Linked DNA regions of Homo sapiens: region 1 is linked to region 2. Evidence: promoter capture Hi-C in human tissues and cell types (Jung and others, 2019). All regions are on one chromosome and are shown on one strand. Each heading gives the region's core, a stretch centred on a gene start or on the middle of the fragment in contact. The rest is flanking DNA. Distances are from core to core; before and after follow the strand shown.

Evidence for each region. Contacts are between HindIII fragments. The study calls those that stand out against the background at their distance.
Region 1: a contact is called between a fragment that was not itself captured here and the fragment with the promoter of ADAM8 in region 2, in 2 of the 25 tissues and cell types used here (H1 embryonic stem cells and dorsolateral prefrontal cortex).

What each region holds. Positions count from the first base shown.
Region 1 is chr10:132,950,616-132,953,371 of GRCh38, reverse strand. The region is part of intron 1 of LINC01166 (long intergenic non-protein coding RNA 1166); the gene reads left to right. Among named protein-coding and RNA genes, the nearest start is that of CFAP46, 9.4 kb to the right of the region's middle. The HindIII fragment of the contact is 6,557 bases long and covers 1-2,756 here.
Region 2 is chr10:133,275,507-133,278,362 of GRCh38, reverse strand. ADAM8 (ADAM metallopeptidase domain 8) reads left to right here and starts at 1,495. Exons shown (of 23, transcript NM_001109.5): 1 at 1,495-1,591; 2 at 2,776-2,856. The coding sequence starts at 1,546. RefSeq lists enhancers at 41-90, 1,405-2,052 and a silencer at 1,246-1,805. The HindIII fragment of the contact is 31,119 bases long and covers 1-2,856 here.

The sequences.
Region 1 (2,756 bases), core at 143-2,642, 320 kb after region 2:
CTGGGCGCATGCCCTCAGGGTCTCCTGGGGCTGTGTCACGGGCCATGGTCATTCGTATTTGGCTCAGAATAAATCTCTTCAATTATTTTACAGAGTTTGACTCTTTTCATCAACAGTGTTAGCAGTGACCAGCCAGAGAGACAAGGGGAGGGAAGAAGAAATGAGTTCTCCCATACAGCCCACCTCCTCCACTGCCCACACGGCCATTCCCTGCTCTGACCAGTGTCCCCAGGCATCTGGGGTTTGGAGTGGAACCTACCATGCCTGCTGGTTCACTATTTTCTCAGAGCTGTTTAAAAAGAAAAAAAGAAAAAAAATGACCACAACGAAACTGCTAAACCACCTGATAATTAAAGCAAGAAAAACAAATCAAAGAAAATGTCAATGCACAAAATTAGGACTGGGAACGTGAGACTGACCACAGACAGAGAGAATTAAAGTGCTTGATGCTCAGATCCTTGGATAATGTTTTGCACAACTCTTTGCTAATGATTTGAAGTTAGGAGGCAATGCAGCTTTTAAGGAAAATTAAGATGGGCAGGGTGGACTTTTGGATGGCCCAGTGACTGTGGATAAACTGGGAGAGCTCCGGGTGAGACCAGAGCTGAAGAGAGGTCCGTGGATCTCACTTCCCCAGCAGGGCATCCACAGCCATCTCAAGAGGATGCATCCTTCCTCCATGGGACTCCGGGATTTTCTGGCTTTCCAGGGCCTGCATTTCAGAGGGCAGGCTTTTCCTGCCCTGCCACACCCTGCAGTACCTGCACCTGCACCCCTTCCTGCATGCCGCCCTCTCTCTCTGCACACCTCAGCTGGGAGGGAGGAGAAAGAACAGAGTGAGTGATCCCTATTTGTGGGATTTCAGGACATTGGCAAAAGCTTCCATTCCAAATACAATATCCAGCCCCCTCTGAGTGGTGTCTAACCTCCACACTTAGAGACTTTTTCCTTTGACTGAAGCAAAACCATGCTGCCACTCACTTCTCAGGGGGTGCCAGCCCTGGGAAGGGGTGTTCCTGGAAAGGTCTGCACACTGGGCTGCACAAGGTGTTTCCCTCCAAGAGTGGAGAAGAGTGGGGTTTGGAGTCCTCACGCTCCAGGGTCATGGCCGCTGAGACTGGAGGAGCTGCATTAGTCCCGTCTGAATTCCGTGATTTGGGCAGAATTGCACTTGCCACGTTGAGCACACGCTCCAGCAAACCCCTGTGCTCTGCGTTATAGGAGGTTCTACAACAGGCAACTCTGGTCTGTGGTGGCTGAAGTCAGAGCACAGGTGCCCCAGGGCAGGGTAGGGCCAACTGGGAGGGGCACAGGGGCCTCTGTGGGGTGACAGGGTGGTTTCCGTCCTGAGGGGTGTGGGTGACCACGTGCACACACTTCCAAAACTCACGGAAACGCAGCACTTACCACCTGTTCGTTTTGCTGCATGTAAATTATACCAAAATAAAGGAAGCAGTGAAGGAGCAGGGAAAAGGCAGGTTTGTGATCTTCCTCGCCAGGGCTGGCTTCAAGGAAACAAGTGCTGACCGAGACAGATGGGCACTTGGTGGTAGCAAAGGATATGAGCCACAGAGAAGCCCCAGCAAACCCCTGTGCTCCGAATGGGATGGAATTGGCATCTGCTGAGAGTGAGTGACAGAGCCAAAGGGTGTGCAGGGAGAGCCAGACAGACACTTCAGAGGCCTGAAGAGCGTCGTCAGTAACACAGTTCTAACCAATATTCATCGAAGGCCTTTCAAGTGCCCATGGAACAATCACAAAAATGGATGGCGTATCGAGGCCCAGAGGAAACCACGAATTCCAAAGCATACACACCGCCAGGCGACGTTCACCAATCCCAGCGCAGTACCACTGCCGGTTGAAGTCAATACCGTGAAGCGGAAAACCTCACCATCTGAACATTTTTTAACTCTCTAACATAACTATTAAGCCAAAAGAAAATAAAGTTCTCTTTACAGAATATCTAGAAAACAATGAAGAAGAAAATCCACGTTCAAGAAAATATCTCCAAAGTTTGAAATTGAGGAAAATTAGTGGTGAGTGATTTTAGTATCACAGCAGAGCACTCTCCCCTCCCTCGGAAAATGCGGCCTCACTGCCTTCCCGCTTACGGCCCCCAAGGCTGCCGTACTGCAGCCCCATGAAACTGGAGGGCGTCTTACAGAAAGGTGATAATGCGGAAATTTTTTTGGAGAAGATAACCCTAGAGGTTACGCTTTTTGTAGGACATGAACCAGGTTTGGACCTAACTTATCTAATGATCTCATAACCCCAAAATAAAATTCTAAGACCCCCCCCCCCAGTTGACTGGACTCCCTCTGGGCCAAGGGGACCCCAGGAAACCTGAAAAACTGGATTATTGATGAGAAGGGAGGCTGGGCTCCCCCTCCCTGTTGGAGCTTAGGCACAGCTGACCAGCATTTATACTAAAGTAGAGATCATAAGACTGACAAATAGACTTTTTGTGGCAATTAGATACCAAATTCCAACCTGACTCTGGCATAGCATTGCATGACAGCAGATAGCAGACCCTAAAGAAAAGCACAGTATTTTACTCCCAAATATGTTTCTTTGACATGTTTTGAAATGGCTGGGAAAAGTGCACTCTTGTAGGGGAAAATTGTGTCTATAGAGAGTGGCCTTCCCTTACTAGGTCCTTTCCTGATCCGGGAGAGATTTACCTAAGAGATTTATGGCACCTTTTAAGGTCCAGAAAGAGATGTTTATCATCTACTCTCTCTGAAGCTACTTCATGT
Region 2 (2,856 bases), core at 246-2,745:
GGAGGAGCCTGTTCTGGCCCAAGCTGGTCCTGTCTTTTTAGGAATAAATCCCTGGTAGCTCAGCGTCGGCAGGGGCCTTGCTGTGCCTCTGATGTGGCCAGCGTGCCGCCTTTGCACTTTGCTGTTGAGTAACTTGCACCATGAGGTCAAGGAAGGGAAGTGTGATTGCCAGCTGGCCATTGTTCTATAATAACAGGGTCACCTGCATGAGCTCAGGCACAGGCCAGTATCCCCAGCCCTACCTGGGAGCCTCTCGGCAGCCTGGGGGACCTCGTCCTGTGCCACACAGGCAAGCGGACACACCCCCAGGCAGCAGAAGTCACCTGCGGCCCAGTGCCAGCCCTTGCTTTCTTGCTTTTCATGCCATTCACATTAGGGTAAGAATGGCTTTGAGACAAAATGTGACAGCATCACTCACGCCAGCTTAGATCCTCCGGGTTCCCTGTCCTCCCAGGATAACGTCCGAGGCCCCGGCCTCTTCTTGCCACTGCCCCTTGACCTCTGTCCTCTGCCCCTAGGCCCGTGCAGTTCCCTGACTCGCCCTGCCCTGGTGCCCTCTCTCCAGGCAGGACTCCCTCCAGCCCCTTGCTGGCCCTGCCCTGCCTCTCCCCAGGGAGGCCCTGAGGCCCCCCCCCCCCATGTGATCTGTCAGCAGCGCCCTGTGTGGTCATCTGAGCTGCCTTTCCTGCCACCACCACTGTTCCCACTCCAGGAGGGCGGCCTGGCTGTGAAAGCCCCAGGGAGGGGTCCTGGGTGGACCGTCTGGGGAGCTGTGGTGTCAGCCCAAACCTGCACCCTCGAGGCTGAGCCCACCACGGGGAATGTGGTCACCAAGGGCAAGCACGCTTGGCCGCAGGCCTGGAGACGCCGGAGCCAGGCCACGGTGGGCTGCTGCAGGCTTTGGTCCACGTCGGCCAGCGTCAGCTGCTGTCTGGGGATCTTAGGCTAGGGACGGCCCCTGCACCTGCCATCACCTGGGCTGGGACCCCCACCTAGGGCTCCCCCTCCCCACTTGGACGCCTGCGGGCCCATGCCTATCCCACTCCGGTGAGGCCTCAGCCTGGTGGAGGGGGCGCAGGCTTGGGGGGGAGGGTGGCAGAGCTTCCCACAGGGCTGAACCTATGCCCACAAAGCCATGACTTGCCCCTGCCTGAGGCTTTCTGTTCCCCAGGAAATCAGAGACCCCCTCTCCTGAAACCGCCAGGCGGCCCTCACAAGTCCCTTCCCCTCCAGGACCTGCCTGGCGCCACCTCCTTCCAGCCGCCGGGTCCTTCGAGAGGCCCCCTCTCGGGGCTCTGGCCGGACTTGGGACAGGCTGTGCCTGAGTTTCCTCACCTGTGCAAGGGAGGATGCTGGATTGTGGGGAGAGGGGAAACGGACCCCGCCCCCAGGTGCCGCGCGCCCCGCCCCTCCCACCGGCCGAGGGGCCCATTGGCTGCGGGGCGCCGGGGCGGGGCGCGCGGAAAAGAGCCTCGGGCCAGGAGCGCAGGAACCAGACCGTGTCCCGCGGGGCTGTCACCTCCGCCTCTGCTCCCCGACCCGGCCATGCGCGGCCTCGGGCTCTGGCTGCTGGGCGCGATGATGCTGCCTGGTGAGTGGTTCCAGGGAACCGTCCCGGGCGCAGCGCGGGGCAGGGTGGCTCTCCCCGCAGGACGCGACGCGGACCCCGAGCCCCTGGCCTGCTCGCACCCCGCACCCTGGCCCGGCTTCGGGCTGGTCCCTGGGAGCGGGCCATCAGGTGCACAGTGGTCTCTGGGTGGAGAGCCCCGGGCCGGGGAGGCCGGGGAGGTCGGAGGGAACCTTCAAAGGTGAACTGTGAGAGGGAAGTCCCGCCTCTGAGCTTGTTAGTGGGGTCGGGGCCGGGCCAAGCAGGACGCTTCACCTGCTGCGCGAGGCGCCCTGGGTTCCTGGGATTCACCTGTGGGGCTACCCACCCCCACTATTTAGCCGAGGAGGGAAGGGAGGGCAGACAAGCTGAGGCCTGGAGTGCAGGGGTGTGGGCTGAGGGGACCCGTCTCCTGCCTGGGGGAGGACATGGGGCTGCTGACCCTGGATCCCACCCCTGCTCCTGGAGTGACTTGGGCTGGGGTGTGCTGAGGAGCTTCAGGCTGGAGGCCGGGTTGCTTCCCGCCAGTTTCCTGGGCAGATAGGGGCTGGCTGCTCCCCTGCTGCCTCTCCAGGTTGGAGATGTGGTCATGGAGACACGTCCACTATTGTGTTTTAATGGGAGCAAAGGGTCCTGGGGTTGGTGGTCTCCGAAACCCTGCCCATTGCATGCTGGGACCCTGCCCTCTGCTCTCGGATACCAGGGAGTTTCCAGTTCTTGGGAGGTGAACAGCCTCCGGGAGGCACTTCCTGCTCCCCAGTTAGATGCGATCAGATGATCAGAAGAATGGAGGAGGAGAATGGAAACGGGCAGGTCGGCGGCCCGAGTCCTCCTCCCTGGGGGGAAGGTTCATCCTTGCCCTCGGGCCCCTCCAGAGATCTGAGACAGCCTGGAGACCTGTGGAGTCACTGGCACCCGCTGGCACCCACAGCGTCTCTGAGCACTGTGTGTGGGTGCTGCAGGACACAGGCCCACCGGCCATGCCTGGGGGCGCTCCTGGGGTCTTTTAGGCACAGAACCCTCACTTGAGTCTTTGTCCCAGAGCTATCTGGTGAGTTCCCCAGGGGAGGGTCAAGCCCAGCAAGAGACAGAATCTGAGGGCCCAGGAGGCCTCTGGGAAGGAAACCTGCCCCCCGGCCCCTCATGCCTGCTGACCCTCCCTCCTGCAGCGATTGCCCCCAGCCGGCCCTGGGCCCTCATGGAGCAGTATGAGGTCGTGTTGCCGTGGCGTCTGCCAGGCCCCCGAGTCC